Linked DNA regions of Homo sapiens: region 1 is linked to region 2. The links are contacts of gene promoters, found by promoter capture Hi-C in blood cells and fetal thymus (Javierre and others, 2016). All regions are on one chromosome and are shown on one strand. Each heading gives the region's core, a stretch centred on a gene start or on the middle of the fragment in contact. The rest is flanking DNA. Distances are from core to core; before and after follow the strand shown.

What was found. Contacts are between HindIII fragments. The CHiCAGO score rates a contact against its expected background, and 5 or more counts as called.
Region 1: a fragment that was not itself captured here is called in contact with the fragment with the promoter of SGK1 in region 2 in 1 of 17 cell types (neutrophils); the score reaches 8.7 in neutrophils.

The regions. Positions count from the first base shown.
Region 1 is chr6:134,587,613-134,593,809 of GRCh38, reverse strand. No RefSeq gene overlaps it. Among named protein-coding and RNA genes, the nearest start is that of LINC03002, 51 kb to the right of the region's middle. The HindIII fragment of the contact is 1,611 bases long and covers 3,421-5,031 here.
Region 2 is chr6:134,315,719-134,322,170 of GRCh38, reverse strand. It overlaps SGK1 (serum/glucocorticoid regulated kinase 1), which reads left to right and starts at 4,059. Exons shown (of 14, transcript NM_001143676.3): 1 at 4,059-4,779. The coding sequence starts at 4,711. RefSeq lists an enhancer at 4,232-4,511. The HindIII fragment of the contact is 10,717 bases long and covers 1-6,452 here.

The DNA of each region.
Region 1 (6,197 bases), core at 2,977-5,476, 270 kb before region 2:
ACCTTTTTAAAAAATTGTGATAAATCCACTTCCTTTTCTTTGACTGTGGCAAGACCAAACTTGAGCTTGTACTTCTGCAGTGACGTTAAGAAGAAAAACAAATCTCATTTAGTCACTTGTGATTTAAACACACGTACACACAAGGAGTAAAGGCCAGGTGCAGCTAGCATTTATTTCTCTGGAGTTGACAGGCTTCAGAGATGATCGTAATGTGATGACATCTTACAAATAATGCATGACCTCCACTTTTCCAGACACTGCAGCTTTATGATTGATGATCAGCTCTGCCTCCCTCACCTGTTATTATTCCCTTTGTTGAGTGCTTGTCTATGAAAAGATTTCACTTTTAAGACATGCAGTGCCTAAAATTAAGAACAGCAAACTTCATCTTCTCTTTTTTGAGCAGGGGGATGTATTTTAAATGCCTAAGGCCAGATAACTTTGATTTTAGAGGGAAGCATTGTACAACCTAGGAAGGGAAAGGCAAAGCCTGGTCTAGCTCCAGAATGGCAGAGCAGAAACTCTTCAGCCCAAAAACTGCTGAGCAGCCTCAAAGCTGCACACCTCCTCCCGGGACCCTGGCAGGAGGTACAGTACAGGTCAAGAGTTCAGACACTGCATGTTTTTCCAAGGAATAAATGTACCATAGTCACATCTCAGCTCTCAGTTGGGGACACAGGAAGGGTAGGGGAGAGTTTGATTCTTCTGTGGTAGAAATGGTTATTTAAAATAGCAGTAGGGAATTGTTCAGCTAAATTATGGTATAACCACTCAGTGGACTATTATCCAGAACTTTAAAGTGAAAATTTTAAGATACGAAATAACCTAGAAAAATGTTACAATAAAATTTTAGTGTAAAAATCTGAATGCTCAATTTCATCAGTATTATAATTGCAGTGAGTGGGAAGAAATATGGAATAAAAAAAGAAAATAGATGATATGCTATATAGGGGCACTGGGTTTTTTTTCCCTTTTCATATATTTACAACATTTGTTATTGCATAATAAAAATTATTGCACTATTTTAAAAAGTGAAGCCTAGTCTTAAAGATTTGATCTTGCCACTAAATTCAATTTTAAGGCCTCTTATTCCCTAAGGAATATCCACTCCCCATTTCTCTCTCTTTTTTAAATATCCAGAATCTGTGAGCAATAAGAATGTATAAGGTAGCATAACTCTAGAGAATTTACAAGAGAATCTCTGAAGTTCAAGCATAACATCAGCACTACCCTATTAAAATTTACATAAAAACCTTTCTTTCCTTTTTCTAAGTAGTACTAGTGTATTAATTATTTAAATAAATTTCTTTTTTGTATAGTTTTTGATTTACAGAAAAATTAGAACAATAGTATGGACAGTTCCTATATACCTCATACCCAAGCTCCCTAGTATTAACATCTGATCTTAATGGGGTATTTTTGTTAAAATTAATGAACCAATATTGTTAAATTATTATTAACTAAAGCCCATATTGTATTCATATATCTTTAAAGTTTACCAATGTCCTTTCTCTGCTCCAGAATCGCATCTAAGATTCCATACTTAACATTTAGTCGTTGTGTCTCCTTGGGCCCTCATGGCTGTGAGTTTCTCAGACTTTTCTTGCTTTTGATAACCTTGGCTGTTTTGAGGAGCATTGGTCAGGTGTGTTTTAGAATGATCCTCGGCAGGGATTTATCTGATGTATTTCTCATGTTTAGACTGGGGTTTTGGGTCTTTGGAGGGTAGACCACAAAGTGAAGGGTTGTTGCTACCCCATTTATCAAGGCTGCACACCATGAACATGACTTACGCTGTGGATGTTGACCTTGGTCACCTGGTTGAGGCAGCGAAAGATCTTTTTCACTGCTTCAGTAAAAAATCCAGGTGTAGCTAGCATTTATCAGGTGTATTTAAAGCATTTATGCAGCTTTTGGGCTGCTTAAGCAGATCTTTCACTGCTTGAGTATCTGCCAAGAGTAAAAAGAGTCAAAACAAACATGGCAACCAAATAAATAAGCAACAAGCAAACAAACATGGCAAGACTTTAACCTGGGACTCTCAGAATTTATTAAATAAGAAAGCATCACTCTTCACATGGATCCCCTTTTCTCCTCTCCATACACCATCTGCCTCCGCCTTTCCTGCCTTGGCACCTGTATTTGCTTTTATGTATATCTTAGTGTGATTCTATTTATATATAAATATATGTTCATATTTAAATCATTTCAGAAATTGAAGTGATATAGATCCTCCAAAACTATTGAGGGGGTGTCCAATGTTGAATTTTGTGCTGTGAAGATACAAGCCAGATTTTTACGTAGAGGTGGAGATTATGTATTTAAAAACATCTTTCCTCCATTCTGACAGAATAAATAAATTTCATAGCGTTGTCAAGCAAAAACATCCTGCAAATGATGAGGGTTAAATGCCTGACCCTTCACAAGTCTGTTGGGGGATAAGACTTGCATCTCAGGGAGTCACCGGGGAAATTGTTCTAAGAAGCCACATTTGCCCCTCGATTTGTTTTTTGGTTTGTTTGTTTGTTTGTTTGTTTGTTTGTTTTTGAGATGGAGTCTTGCTTAGGCTGACTGCCCAGGCTGGAGTGCAGTGGCGTGGTCTCGGCTCACTGCAACCTCTGCCTCCTGGGTTCAAGCGATTTTCCTACCTCCGTCTCTGAGCAGCTGGGGTTACAGGTGCCTGCCACCATGCCCAGCTAATTTTTGTATTTTTAGTAGAGACGGGGTTTCACCATGTTGGTCAGTCTGGTCTCGAACTCCTGACCTCAAGTGATCAGCCTGCTTCAGCCTCCTAAACTGTTGGGATTACAGGCATGAGCCATCGTGCCCAGCCTGCCCCTCAAATTTTGATGTCTCCCCTGTATCTGACTCATTGAGATTGCTTGATAAAAATGTGTTGAATGAAAAGCTGAATATTTTAATAAAGAGCCAAGAGCATATTAAAAATAAAGTTTCCTAGAGATACTGGCCACTTTCGGCCCGGCCACAGGCCTTTCTGGGGAGTGTGCTCCATCTGTAGTCTTTGCTCTGTAAACTCATGAGCTGCACCCCACACACGCACAGAGATTTCAGAAGCCTGACCTCAAGACAGCCAGCACATAGGTTTGCCATCACATACTCAGGAGCTGGCACACAAAGATGAGCTGGGCCAACCAGAGTCTTTCCTTTGGCAATTTGGACTCAACAACAAGGAATGAATTGCCAGGAAGTAATTTTATTGGAGCTGTCAAATTGCCACAGGCTCACGTAAGCCAAAGCCACGTGCAAGATGAAGTTATGACGTGGCATAGAAAAGAGAGAAAAAGCTGGTCAGAAAAGAATGTCTTTCACAAAGAAGGGAACAACAAACACCGGGGCCTACTTGAGGGTGGAGGGTGGGAGGAAGGCGAGGATCAAAAACTACCTGCCGGGTACTAAGCTTATTACCTGGGTGACGAAATAATCTGTACACCAAACCCCCGAGACACACAGTTTGTCTACGTAACAAACCTGCACCTAAAATAAAAGGTTAAAAAAAAAAAAGAAGAAGAAAGTGATGTCACCGAGAGATACTGAGTCAGAGAGGTCATGAGACAGGGGACATGAAAGAGATCAAAGGAGAGAGACCAGGGCCTAAAACTGGGGAACATCTAGGGCCTTATGACCTTCTGATCCATTCTGGTCTGTGTGGATATTTTCAGGTAACACCCAAGCCCTGCCCTGAAGTAAAGTGGGTCTCTGTTCCTTAGAGGTCAAAGAGCATTATTTAAAACAGTTAAGTTCCCTAGGAACCCAGCCCCCAAACAGCCTACTAAATTTTTCAGAGCTGAATAATTTCCCTTGCAAAAGGGGAAGATTTTAAATATCTTAGAACTGTGGATCCTACAGTCAAAATTCCCAGTTTACCGGTTGTCAAAAGGTTTGTTTAGATATAGTGCAGGAAAGAGGGAGAAGATGGGAACCAAGTGGCCTTCCCACGGCTTCCCATGGCTTCCCACAGTTAACTTGGAGCTCTTTTCCCAAGTCACACCCATGCTATTTTCCTGCCTCCTGGATGAAGCCTGTTGCAAAAGCTCTGAATTCCAACCTTGCAAATGCACCCGATGATGCATATAGCTGCTTGCTCCCGGAGGCTACTGGGCTGCTTCCCTTAGTCATAACGTAGGCATGGATCTTTCCCATCAGTGATGACGTTTTTACAAGATCAGTTATGTTATGAGTTTGTTGAGTAATAACACTGAATTTGTTATTTTATAAATGTGCAAAAACATGACCAAAGAGTGTCTTAAAACATGCCACAAGTAGAATGTTATGCATAGTAACAGATTTAAAGACATTAGTATAAAACTCAGTAGCTATTCAGACCAACAAAATCTGAAAAAATAAATATTTGAATATTTATGCTTCTCTTGAACATAGTCTCTGCTTCTTTTGCATAGTAACTTATTTGTTCCTTTTAAAGTATATTTGTTGATAGTTTCTTGGATTTCGACTTTCTGATTTGGGGAAAAATTTTTAGTCAATTTATGTAAAAGTATAATTGTGGAGTCTTCAATGGATTCTTAAAAAACTATTCTTTTTTTTGTAATAGAAAATGTTTGGCCCTTTTTGTGCTTCATGGATTTGTTGAGTATAAAATTTGAGAAGATTTTATTAGGTTATACTTTTGCCTGAAAAGTAGAATTACCTAATTAAGTTATATAATTATATTATAGAACTGAATTAGAATTGTTTTTAAGCTAAGTAACACATCAGGAGAGTGGCTAAGTTTTGTTGATTGTGAAATCAATTTTTATTCAGTTTTACTTTTTAAGTAAAGCCTGATGAAGGACAAGACCAAGATGTCAAACAGATAGAGTGAGAAACTTGGCAAAGCTAGATTCTTGAATTGAATTTTGTCTCATGTTTGAAGTTGAGGTTTCCCCAAGACTGGCTACAAACTTTATATTTTAGCCACTAAAATCTGAAAGAGTCTTGCTGTATCTGAAAGGACAGAACATTTATGTATTTCACCAGGATAACTCCTGGGGTGCCTGCAGTGTTGAGTAAGCTTTCACTCAACATTGCCTGTGGATTTGAAAATGTAGCAGGGTAGGGTGGTGCAAAGAAAGGTAGAGCTGGGTGTGTGGACTTTGCCAACCATCAAAGCCAACAGCCCTTGTGTGTTCAATGCTTTATGTATTCAATGGTTCACTTATAGAGGGACTGTGAAAATTTAACCTGAATTATTCCTGTGACCTAATAACAGGATCTCCAAACAGCCCAAACTCCTTTGGTTTAGAGAATGCCTTTGTCTATATTTGCTTTATTACGTGAAGATAGACAGACGCTTTATATACAGGGGGCATGCATAAGCCTACCTATTTGAATTGGTGTGTGTTACATCTATGGGGGACTGAAGCACCAAATGAATAGACCTAGACCCTATAATTTCTTTCTTACACATATGTAATCATATTACCAAAACAAAGCAATCCTCAGCTGCTATATACATATGTGTTTGTTTGTGTTTCCAGGCATTATAGATTATGTTCATTTCATCTGCATCATTTTCTTGGAAGCTGCTAATGGGTTAAAAGCATGTCTCCTCTTTTCCCTGGAAGCTGCCCACAGTGCCTGAGATAATGTTGTGCCCACAGAGATGGTTCAGAGAACACGGTGGTCCCTAAGAGATGACTAAGCTAAATATGGGAAGAGTAAATTATTTTCTGTTTCCTTCGTTCCTTCCTTCCTTCCTTCCTCCCTCCCTTCCCTCTCTCTCTCTCTCCCTCCCCATCCCTCCCTCCCTTCCTTCCTCCCTCCCTCCTTTTCTTTTCTTTCTTTCTTTCCTTCCTTCCTTTCTTCCTTTCTCTTTCTTTCTTTCCTTCCTTTCTTTCTCTCAAATAAAGAAGTTTGTTTTTCATTTCTCTTCACACACTTTGTAAAATACATTGCTTATGGCACTCACATCAGAAGCTCCTTTTCTATTTTCACCATTTAATTCTAGTCGTTCCCTCAAATTACAAAAGTGCTAAAAATTATAAATATTTCTGAGGAAAACAACATAAAAAGTCTTGTGAAACTTTATACAAATGGCACTTGAATTTTTTTTAATTGCTTCTTAGACTCTTTTTTTCTTTCTTTCTTTTGTTTTTTTTTTTGAGACAGAGTCTCACTCTGTCACCCAGGCTGGAGTGCAGTGGCATGCTCTCCTCACTACAACCTCTACCTTCCAGGCT
Region 2 (6,452 bases), core at 2,810-5,309:
AAGAAATGTAGAGTTATTTATTACTTTGCAAAACCCTTTCAAATATAATTTGGTACTGACAATTCCTTTAGGAGGTAGGTGAAGAAGCATTTTATTATTATTATTTTACAGATGAAGAAACTGAGGCTTAGTGCGTTGAGGGAACTTGTTGAAGGTTGCACAATTAGGGAATGGAAGTGAGGTAGAAGATGTTCCAAATCAATACAGCAGTCTTTCCACCGCAGGTACATATTGGTAGTTAGTCCTACCTAGCTACTTTATTTTATTCTTTGTGTGACAGCCTAAACAATATTGTTGGGAGGAAAAGTAGGTATACCACAAAAAAATCAAATAGAGGTTCAAGGGATTCTTTTTGTTTGTTTGTTTATTTATTTATTTATTTTGAGAGAGTCTTGCTCTGTTGCCCAGGCTAAAGTGCAGTGGAACAACCATGTCTCACTGCAGCCTCAACTTCCCAGGGTCAAGCAATCCTTCCACCTAAGCCTCCTAAACAGCTGGACCACAGGCATGCATCACCACACCACCTATTTTTTTTCCTTTTTGTAGAAATGGGGCTTTGCTATGTTGCCAGGCTGGTCTCAAACTCCTGGGCTCAAGTTATCCTCCTACCTCGGCCTCCCAAATTGTTGGCATTATAGGCATGAGCCACTGTGCCTGGCCCAAGGGATTATTTTTAACATTGGGATTTTCCATCAAAAAGAAGTGTCATCCCAGGGCTACAGTGTCATTGAGGCTTAAAGAGGAAATGGTGAGGAGTGAGGTCGTTTGCTCTTACTGGAGCTCAGCATATTGGCTATCATGGGAGAGAGCTTAATGACTGAAGAATCTTAAAGGTATTTAATGATTCCTGCAAATGGTCTGGTGCCAGGGTCACTGATGTCAGCTATACTTACTTTTGTATTTAATTCGTTTGAAAACCATTTGTTGAGTGCTAGCATGGCCCAGGCACTCCGCTGTGTGCTGGTGCTACAAAAATAAATAAGTGTGTTTTATGGGAACAAGAAGTGAGTTAATTAATTAAATTAAGTTTGATTTATAAACAAGATGTTGCATGAGTCCAGAGTTTTTTTTTTTATTATTATAAGCAGGAGCCTGTGCTCCTTTATAGGTATCAACAGTGGACCTGTCAAAGGAAACATTTAGTAAACAGTAGTCACTCTGGGCTTACCTGAGGGCAGCTTTACTTATGAAAATAGAGGTCAGAGTGAGATGAAAGATGCCTTCTTTTCCTGAATAACCAACACAGTGCAGTTAATGCATTTCTCTATTATTGCACCAATCAAAAGATAATCCAAAATAATTGGCTGTCAGATATAGTCAGAATCCCTGCCCTATACTTCTCTTCCTTCATCTGACTGACCTACTCATTCTTTAAGGCCATGCACTAACATCATCCCTTTAGGTAAATTTCCTGGACCTCTCTTACCCATCCAGCCCCACCCTTCCCCCCTCCAAATTAAGGCAGGGTTGATGCATACACACCACACACACACACACACACACACACACACACACACACACAGAGTAGTACACTCTTATCCATGGGGGATACATTCCAAGACCCCCCCCATGGATGCGTGAAACTTCAGATAGTACCAAACTCCATATACATTATGTTTTTTCCTGTACATACATACCTATAATAAAGTTTAATTTATAAATCAAGCACAGTAAGAGATTAACAACAATAGTAGAATAATTTTAACAATGTACGATAATAAAAATGATGTGACTGTGGTCTCTCTCTGTGTCTCTAAAAGTATCGTATTGTACTCACTGATTTTCAGACCATTGTTGACCTTAGGTAACTGAAACTGTGGAAGGTAAAACCTCAGATAAGGGAGGACTACTGTATATAGTATTCTTACCACACTGTATATTTCTCTACTAGGCTGTGAGTTCCTTGGTGACAAAAACCAGTGACACTTACATGCACTGGACCTTCCATAGGATCTAGCATAGACCAAGTGACAGTGGCAGCATCTTCAAGAGGTGGCATGGAGTGAGGGAAAAGATAGCATTTAGCTTGTCTTCTCCTCCCTCATAATCTCTATTAACCACCCGCCTGCACCCCAAATGAACATACATCCTACATGAAACCAGGGTATTAGTCCGTTCTCACACTGCTAATAAAGACATAGTGAGATGGGTAATTTATACAGGAAAGAGGTTTAATTGACTCACAGTTCAGCATGGCTGGGGAGGCCTCAGGAAACTTACAATCAGAGCAGAAGGGGAAGCAAACACATTCTTCTTCACATGGCATCAGGAAGGGGAAGTGCTGAGCAAAAGGGAGAAAAGCCCCTTATAAAACCATCAGATCTCATGAGAAATCACTCACTGTGGGAACTACAATTCAAGACGAGATTTGGGTGGGGACACAGCCAAATGATATCAACCAGTATGCATGCTAGGCCAATGTGGGATTAAGCAAAGCCCCAGCACCTCCTTCCTAGCAGAGTGCTTAAAGGTCCCCTCCTGTATATTACTCAAATTCAATAAATGTCTGTTAAAACACTTTTGGGGGAGTGGCAATGGGACGAAAAAGAAAGAACTTGAATGACCATCATTTTTTAAAATGAGGTCCATTGAGGTATAATTTACATGCAGCAAAAGTTTCCCTTTTCCTATATAAAATTTGATGAGTTCTGACAAATGCATAGTTATGTAACCACCACCATCATCATGATAGAGAACACTTCCATCGTCTCAAAATAATTCCCTTTGAACTACCATAATTTTAAATGAACTCTTTAGAAGAACCACAAAAACTTATCAATGTTGTAGATTACATAACATATACTTGCATCTTGGACAACTTAACATATCTCTCCAAAATGAATAGTTGTTTTCCCTTGGTTATCATGCCATCATTTAGTTGTATTGCATTTTCTTTTTGGAAACCTCAAGGCATTTAGCAAACAGGATTTCATGTTTATTCCCAAAAACTCTGGCCCAACTGTAGAGATTTATAGTCCAATTCAATGAAACCCATGCATTTCTTTCCCAGTTTAACCTGATGTTTCTCTTCTTACCAGAGACTTCCATGTAAATACTTTAACAATGTTAGGTGTGTTATATATAATGAGGTCATAATCAGTTTCAAATTAGCATTGCGCCTTTCACTTATTTATCAATTATATTCCCTTGTGATGATTATGAAAAGGCTCCACATCCTGAGGACACTTGTCAGAGTTAGATTTATTAATGGAATGAAATAGCAAATAATGAATGACTAAATAAATGAATGAGTGAATGAATGAATGAGTGGCTGCCTCCATTTTATGGATGAGGCAGTGTCCGAAAGGCACAGTGAGGTCAGGTGATGGCAGAAAGCCACACACCGATGTTGGTGGCTTTCTGCCAGGTCAGATGCCAAGTTTATTTTCTTTGCTTTCTTGCTTTACTATCAACTAATCTTTAAAATCATTCCCATAAAATATCAACATTAAAGAATAAAAATGGAAAAATAAGCCACATACAATTAAATGGCTTTTTTAAAAGGAGCTCAGTGTGCAAAGGATAACATGAGTAAGGATTTTTTGGGAAATTTTTCACCTAATAGGAAGAATGCTTTACTCTTTTATTTATCAAACCTTCCTCATCATTAAATGGATTCAGTAGTACTTTTTGGTAATAACTCGTGTGTGTGTGTATGTGTGTAATAAAGTACTTTGTATATGTTCATTGTGTTCTTTTTTTAATAAGCTGTTTTAATGAAAAAGACACAATTACCGTCACCATTGCCCACTATATAATGACAAGTAGGGGAGGGGAGGCTAAAAGAGCTTCTACATAGTGAGAGATCTTCCATTGTTATACCTACGCTTGCACTTTATTTCATTTTCTTCCACGTTTGGACAGGTCGAGATTAAATGTGATTACATTTCCGTTGAGAGGCTTTTATTCAGCAACAGGATTCAAAAGAATGTCAATGAGCATAAAATAAAAACGGTGTGCAATTTATATGAAACTCTGATTTAAATGGTCCTAACCAAAAAAAAAAAAAAAGAAAGAAAGAAAAGAAGCTATTTAAAGTAACCCTCCCAAGGGGAGTCAACTGCTCTTCAGTGTGCCCTGAGCCGGCTGTGCCTTCTCTCCATCCGCTGCTCAGATATTCATGAACCGTTGCTTCTTCCAGCCTCGCCTTCTCGCTCCCTCTGCCTTTCTGGCGCTGTTCTCCCTCCCTCCCTCTGGCTTCTGCTCTTTCTTACTCCTTCTCTCAGCTGCTTAACTACAGCTCCCACTGGAACTTGCACAATCAAAAACAACTCTCCTCTCTCAAGCCGCCTCCAGGAGCGCATCACCTGGAGAAGAGCGACTCGCTCCCCGCGCCGGCCGCGGAAGAGCAGCCAGGTAGCTGGGGGCGGGGAGGCGTACCCTTCTCCCGCTCGGTAAGAGCCACAGCATCTCCCCGGAGATTGGCCGTATCCCACCGTCCGGCCCCCAGGGTCCTGCAGCGGTGATGCATATGTTTCGGAGCAATGATGGAAGGAGAAAAGCCGCTGTCGGTGGCAACTGAAAGTGGGGAGAGGTTGCTGCAGTAGCTGGTGCTGCAGAATGCGCGAGTGAAGAACTGAGCCCCGCTAGATTCTCCATCCCGCTCAGTCTTCATTAACTGTCTGCAGGAGGTAAACCGGGGAAACAGATATGCACTAACCAGGCGGGTGCCAACCTGGATCTATAACTGTGAATTCCCCACGGTGGAAAATGGTAAACAAAGACATGAATGGATTCCCAGTCAAGAAATGCTCAGCCTTCCAATTTTTTAAGAAGCGGGTAAGGACAGGTTTTGCTTATTTCTTTTGTTTTCTGTGCTTCTCTTAAATGCTTTTGAATGTTTGCCTGAAGTAAGCCTGAGGTTTTGTTGCTAAACCCTTAATGTAAGCCGTGCTTCTGATGGCAGTGGTAAAGCTGAGAACTATACCTGACTTGATTAGAATTTGTTGGAGGAGGGGCAGGGGGCTATGAAGAGTTGCATTGGGAGGAGGGGGTTGGGCTGAGATGCCTTAAACGGGTTTGAGCTGGGAATGGGGATTTTTCTCTCTCAAGCCACAACAAAGATTACAAGGCAGTCGCAAAGAGAACTGGCTTGAGTACAATTATGGCTAGTAATTTAGTCAGGGGCTAATTTAGCAGCTTCCTCTCATCTTTGAAGGGTTCAACTTTTCTACACCTTTCATCCACTCAGTCTCAAGTGATGCATTATCATCTTCGTTCGTCAGAAGCAGCAGCTTCTGGTTTCCCAAATCCATTCAGCCAATAATTTGCTGTGTCTCTATCTGTGGTATAAATAGCAAAGGAGTAGAATGACCTTTTACAGAAATGATGGAATCCAGCATTTAAAATTGTCTATTTTAAGTTGCCTCAATTTTTGCTTTTGCTTAGAATAACTGCCTTTTTTTTTTTTTTTTTTTTTTTTTTTTTGGGAGAGAGCAGTGGGAGGTCTGTATTTGAGTGATAATTCAGGGTTATGTTGCTGTATGCATTTATTTCTTAAACTCCTTATTCTTCAACTCAAAGTATGAATAATGTTGCATTGGTTGTAGGTGAGAAAAAAGGATTTTTTTGCATGTATATTTCACAATAAACTCAGTTCACTGGGATGGCCACACTGGTGGTCTGTGTAAATCTGCAAATTTATACACAAGCGGGAGGTAAGAAATGAATGATTGTTAAAGGAATGACACTGACACTCTTAAGGACAGTGTTTCCTAAGCAACGTAAGAGAAGGAACATCCTCCAGTCCCCAGTTGCCCCATCCTATTTAATACCCTAGGGCAATTCCACCAAAATGGTTCTCTCCATTCATTCCTCCTTCCTTTCATTCAGGTCCTTTCTGTGCCACTCCTGAAACACAGCCCTTCAGTTAACTCATCCGCAGAACACAGTGAATTTCAGGGTGGGCTGGACTATCTCCCTGCACCAAATGGGCAAGCTGGGAAGGCAAGGCTAGAAATGCAGGCAACATGTCAGGCCCAGCTAGAGGGCCAGCGAAGGCTCCCAAGCACCCTTGACTGAGTTCTCATCAGTAAAGCAAAATCTTTCTCCAAGTCTGTGGGCCAAAGCATATGCATTCAAACCAAAATGAAACCAACCTGTCCTGGCCCCTGCTCTTGGAGTGGGAGTACCATGTGAAATCTCACTAGTGAGCTGCAAGCTAAGTGAAAGCAAGTCAGTGCAACTTCACAGAGCTCCACAAGGCTTCTTAGTTTTTCTCTGTAGCTAAAATATTTCTTTCCAAGGGAAGAGCCCTTTATGAAAATTAATTTTCTTTCTTTCTTTTTCTTTTTTTTAGAGACGGGGTCTTGCTATATTGCCCAGGGTGGTCTTGACCTTTTGGGCTCAAGTGGTCCTCCTGCCTCAGCCTCCCAAATTGCTGGGATTACAGATGTCCACCACCAGGCCCAGCCCTAATTTTCAATAATAAACAAATGTTTTGCTAATTTTAA